2 separate regions of the Homo sapiens genome follow, and region 2 is linked to region 1. The links are contacts of gene promoters, found by promoter capture Hi-C in human tissues and cell types (Jung and others, 2019). All regions are on one chromosome and are shown on one strand. The core of a region is centred on a gene start or on the middle of the fragment in contact, and the rest is flanking DNA. Distances in the headings are between cores, read along the strand shown.

Evidence for each region. Contacts are between HindIII fragments. The study calls those that stand out against the background at their distance.
Region 2: a fragment that was not itself captured here is called in contact with the fragment with the promoter of RNASEK-C17orf49 in region 1 in 1 of the 25 tissues and cell types used here (aorta).

What each region holds. Positions count from the first base shown.
Region 1 is chr17:7,011,079-7,013,865 of GRCh38, reverse strand. RNASEK-C17orf49 (RNASEK-C17orf49 readthrough) reads right to left here and starts at 1,449. Exons shown (of 8, transcript NR_037717.1): 1 at 1,109-1,449; 2 at 124-200. RNASEK (ribonuclease K) reads right to left here and starts at 1,242. Exons shown (of 3, transcript NM_001004333.5): 1 at 1,105-1,242; 2 at 124-200. The coding sequence starts at 1,182. It overlaps ALOX12-AS1 (ALOX12 antisense RNA 1), which reads left to right and starts at 1,532. Exons shown (of 3, transcript NR_040089.1): 1 at 1,532-1,670. RefSeq lists enhancers at 802-981, 1,062-1,181, 1,261-1,881. The HindIII fragment of the contact is 15,519 bases long and covers 1-2,787 here.
Region 2 is chr17:5,108,636-5,111,422 of GRCh38, reverse strand. ZNF232 (zinc finger protein 232) reads left to right here. Exons shown (of 4, transcript NM_014519.6): 2 at 1,555-2,029; 3 at 2,371-2,497. Among named protein-coding and RNA genes, the nearest start is that of ZNF232, 1.8 kb to the left of the region's middle. The HindIII fragment of the contact is 5,086 bases long and covers 1-2,787 here.

The sequences.
Region 1 (2,787 bases), core at 200-2,699:
CTCTCCTCTCCAAGTCCTCTAACCTAGGGGCCCTAAGCACCGGGCCTCCCAGACGTAATTCTGACCCTAGGCCTCGCCACCTCCCACCTGCTCCCAGCCCGCCTCCCCCACCCGAATACTTACTCAAAATCTTTCTCCGTGAAGGGAACGTCCTCAATCAACACAGCGGAATGGACATTGAAAAATATTCCGAGCATTATCTGGAAAAGGGGAATGGGTAGACTGTTGAATTCAGGCACCTGACCTCATGTTCACTTCGTAAACCCCTCCCATTTCCAATGTTGCTACAACACCCGAGCCTGAGATTAACCAAAACGAGGTGGTGGTTACTGGATTCGGACTCAGCCACCTGGAACAGGGCGTGAGGTGGTGACATTGAGACAAGTGGTCGAGGCAAGGGTGGGAATAGTGACCAAGCCATCTCTCCCAGGAACCCAGATTATCGTCCTCTCTGGAGGCGTCATCATCACGGGACAGTGCGGAAGAGGGGAGGGAGAACCGGCACTTCTTCATATCATTTCTTCTTGAAGTGGCGGTGGGTGGATTACTGGGAAAACAAGGCCCAGCTACACATTTCTGGAACAAGCACTCTCTTTTCCTCCCATGTCCTCCATTCAACTCAAGCACCTCTCAGGCACCCCGCTCTTGTTTCTCCTACCTTGAGGGGTCTCCACCTTTACCAGCCCTGGCTCCTCCCACTCCAGGGCCCTCCGCTCCAGTTCCCTTTTTTCTTTTTCTTTGGGGACGGAGTCTCGCTCTGTCACCCAGGCTGGAGTGCAGTGGCGCGATCTCGGCTCACTGCACCCTCCGCCTCCCGGATTCAAGCGATTCTCCTGCCTCAGCCTCCTGAGTAGCTGGGATTACAGGCGGGCGCCACCACGCCCGGCTAATTTTTGTATTTTTATTGGAGACGGGGTTTCACCATGTTGGTCAGGCTGGTCTCGAACAGTTCCCATTTTTCAATTTCAGTCTGTCTCCTTCTCCGGGGCCTGTAGATCCCCGGCCCCTCCGGCCTGCCTGCGGCCCAGAGTTTCCTCGCCTCCCAGCCCTCCCAGCCCGGAGCCCCTCAGGCCCTCTCCGATCCTTGCCGGGGAGTCCCCTCACCAACATGATCACTCCCCAGGCGCTGAGGACGATGCCGCAGGCGGCCAGCTTCGGCCCACAGCACAGGAGCGACGCCATAAAGAAGGGAGTCGGGGATCGCCGAGGTGCAAGCGGGCTCGGAAAGCGGTGGGAGAAAGCCCAGGATGCCCTCGCAGGGGGGCAGAGGGGGCGTGGCCCCGGCCTCAACCATCCCATCCGGGGGCGGCAGGCGGAAAAGGCTGGGCTCCTCTCAGGACTTTCGCGGGAGACGGCGCCGTCTGAAACCAAAACTGCTCCTGGGGAAACCTTCCTTGACCTCTGTAGCTAGGGCGTGAGTATTGGAAGAGCGAGGGCCTCCGGTTTGTTGGTCCCCCTCCCCCCGCACACGGGAATGGAAGGAGCTGGTATGTCACGTGACCAAGCCTGTCACGTCACGTGACGAGGAACTAGCCTTAGCGAGGCCATGGGGGAAAAAGTCTAACTGGCGGAACTCCTGGGAACTGGGGCGATGGGCTCTTAGTATCGGAGGATTGGAGCCATCTGATTTTTACCTGAAATTCCTTAGTCTCTCCTGTGTTGGGGAAATGGTAAGTAAGACAGATTTTCACCAACAGAGAGCGTTTCTATCTCTTCTCTACTCCTCCCTTTTAAAATTGAGATTCTGACAGTGTAAAGGAGTTAGGACCCCCTTTTGGGGATCGGGCATGGTTTTGTGGCTTTAAAATGCTTTAAAATTGCTGAAGTTTCTTGGTATTGGAACTGTTTCTCCTAAGTAACATTTTATCATCGCACGTGAAATACTGTAACTCTCGGTGCCAAATCCAGGAAAAATGGGCGGTTAGGAGAAGTCCAGGGAAAGCCGACTGAGCAGGTTGTGAAGGTAAGCAGTCCTGTTAAATGTACACAAAAATGTCACTTTGCTTCTCTAAACTAGGAAAACTGATAGGACTTTTGAATAAGGTAGGATATAAGATTTAAAAATATAAATAGGTCATCCCCTCCAAAAAAGCCGTTTGTATGTTTAACTGGTGAGTGACAGATCTGTAATAATTATTTAGAAATAGGAATGTCGAGGCGGGCGGATCACCTGAGGTCGGGAGTTCGAGACCAGCCAGGTCAACATGGCGAAACCCTGTCTCTACTAAAAATTACAAAAATTAGCTGGATGTGGTGGCATGAGCTTGTGATCCCAGCCACTCGGGATGGTGAGGCGGGATAATCCCTTGAACCCGGGAGGCGAAGGTTGCAGTGAGCTGAGATGGCGCCACTGCATTCCCGCCTGGGCGATAGAGACTACTTCTAAAAAAAAAAAAAAAAAGAAAAGAAAAGAAGTAGGGATGTTTGAAGAACACAGTTTTGCAGTGAGCAAGTTGTACCCACTCTAGTGAGGACAGTGACCTCAGAATAATTGAGAGGGATCATTTGACCTTGAGACCCCAGGACCTAACAAATAAACACTATCATTGGCTAGAATAACTTTGTAGTTCTTGTCCATTTATTTTGTGCATGTTGTTCTTAAAAGGCTTGTGAAAGATAACTTGGAATGTGGGAAACACATAGATCCCAGAGTATTAAAGGGGCTGGAAAAGTAGCCTTAAGACATGAATTATGTGCCTTTCATCTGGGACTGTTTGGAGAAAGAAGCCATTTTGGGGCAGTGGTTTGTATTCTGCCCCAAAAACATGATTCTTATTCAGGGACTTT
Region 2 (2,787 bases), core at 106-2,605, 1.9 Mb after region 1:
TTTTTCCTCGCGCCTCCTTTGTCTTAGGCCAGCGGTCCCCCTTTGTGCTCCTTTCGTGGCCTCTGATGCGTTCCACCTCCTTCCCTGTGTGAAAGGAAAATAAAATCTCAGGACCCCAAACTTACTATGACAAAGGGAAAAGTTAAGCTTGGAAACTGAGTCACGGAAAAAAACTGCTTTTCCTTTTGTTCCTAAACCGATAGCTGCAAGATAGAAAGCAACATATGCCCCCAGGTGGCCTCCCTCACCCTGGCAATGGAAACGAACAGCCGAGCTTCACCGGACAAGACTAGAAATCGTTCCTCCACCCACCCAGAGACAAAGCATATTTGACTTCTTCCTCTACTGTATGTCTACCTTATCTTGTGTAAAATGCAGATTTACTGAGCACGAGACAAATTCATAATTGACTTCCTCTTTTCACGTGCAACATGTGGATTCAGTGAGCTCTAATCAAATCCTCACAAGAATGTGGCCACTTACCTCACCACATACCCTCCCTCTTCTCTCCTCCTTCCCCTCCTGCCAGCTTTCTCCCCATTAAATTGAAGCCCTCAAAACCCTCTTTGGTAAAAGTGCGAGCCACGGATCCTACTGTGGCTTGTGTGTCTTTTTCCTGGGTGCATCCTCAACCTTAGCAAAATAACCCCTAAATTGGTTGAGACCTATCTCAGATGCTTTTTTGGTTTACACCTGTTAGATTTCCTTGACGCAGGCCACTGTACCCGAGACTTGTTCATAGCTGCCCCTTAATAGGGCTTTGGCATTTGAATGAGATCCAGCTCCTTAAAGGGGACTTATATTTTTCTTTTGCTGTAGCTACTACTTCAGAAATTTTTGAAAGCAGGGAGGAGCCATCTCAGAGGAGGCTGCCTCCCCAACACATTCCACCTTGCACTGAAAGCTGCTCGGCTCTGGGCTCTGCATCTGGAAACTTGGGTTTTGCTTCAAACTTATTTCTTCCAATAGTCATTTCTTCCCATAGGCCCCCAGAACTTTTTTTTTCTTGATACATTTTTCCTGTCAATGGCATTTAATTAGTTGTATTATAGAAAACCACTTTACATCCCCGTTTCTACCACGGTGCAAGTTTCTCAAAAACATTGACTTAGTGCAGCAGAATTCTGGGGAGGGGTGGAAGAAAAAGCGGGACTACAGGGCATAGGACAGGGTTTGGCTCTTTGGAGTGTTGAGTATATGTATATGTTTAATGAATGAAAAAAGAAGAGGAGGACGGGCGCGGTGGCTCATGCCTGTAATCCTACCACTTTGGGAGGCCGAGGTGGGTGGGTCACCTGAGGTCAGGAGTTCAAGACCAGCCTGGCCAATATGGCAAAACCCCGTCCCTACTAAAAATACAAAAAAATTAGCTGGATGTGGTGGCAGGCGCCTGTAATCCCAGCTACTTGGGAGGCTGAGGTAGGAGAATCGCTAGAACCCCGGGGGTGGAGGTTGCAGTGAGCTGAGATCATGTCACTGCACTCCAGCCTGGGTAACAGAGAAAGACTCTGTCTTAAAAAAAAAAAAGAGGAATGATTTCTTCTTATGTTACAGGGGGCCCTTGCAAGATTCCAGCTGGTATGAGCCTTCTGCAGAGCTAGTGCAGACTAGGATGGCTGTATCACTAACAGCAGCTGAAACTCTGGCCCTTCAGGGTACACAGGGACAAGAGAAGATGATGATGATGGGACCAAAGGAAGAGGAACAGTCTTGTGAGTATGAGACCAGGCTACCTGGGAACCACTCTACCAGTCAAGAGATCTTCCGCCAACGCTTCAGGCATCTCCGCTACCAGGAGACTCCTGGTCCCCGGGAGGCCTTGAGCCAACTACGAGTACTCTGCTGTGAGTGGCTGAGGCCAGAGAAACACACGAAGGAGCAGATCCTGGAGTTCCTGGTGCTGGAACAATTCTTGACCATCCTGCCTGAGGAGCTCCAATCCTGGGTGCGGGGACATCACCCTAAGAGTGGAGAGGAGGCTGTGACTGTGCTGGAGGATTTAGAGAAAGGACTTGAACCAGAGCCGCAGGTGGGAAGGGGGATTTGGTCTGTTATGGGAGCCAGATTGATGACCTTCAGGCTGGACCGAGGGGCAGCTGTAGGGGGAGGTGCCAAGTTCAAACCTCTCTTGGGCCAGGTAGAGCAGTTAGTATGTGTTTCTGTGTCTGTCTTTTCTGCCCTCGAGCCCTGAATGAGAAAGAGACTCTAGCTCCTCTTCTTCCCTTGTGCTGACTCTGAGGAGGCTCTCTAAAGTCTCCTTGGAAGCTTTGGTCCAAGGAGGGTCACATCTGCAAGTGTCCAGGCAGGGGACAGAAACCACACTAGTAATTTGAAGAAAATTTAAACTGAGTGGTGCCTGATCACCTCCAGGTCCCAGGCCCTGCACATGGACCTGCACAGGAAGAGCCATGGGAGAAGAAGGAATCTCTGGGAGCAGCCCAGGAAGCACTGAGCATCCAGCTCCAGCCTAAGGAGACCCAGCCTTTCCCAAAGAGTGGTGAGGAGCAGGATTCTGTGGGGAGGGAGAGGAGAAAGAGGGACTATAAAGGGCACAGTACCTAGTACCTGTAAAGGGTAAATAGTAGTAGGTGCTTAAATGTTTGGTATCATCACAGCCTTACTATTCTTATCTCTTAGGTGAGAGACTTTGCCTGTTTCATCACTCATAAAATTAGGAGTAAGAATAAACTACCTCATAAGATAGCTCTGAGGATTAAGCTCAACTTGGGTCTTATCTGGATATAAAGCCTGGCCAGCATCTCTTAACTTTAGAGAGCCCTAAATCAG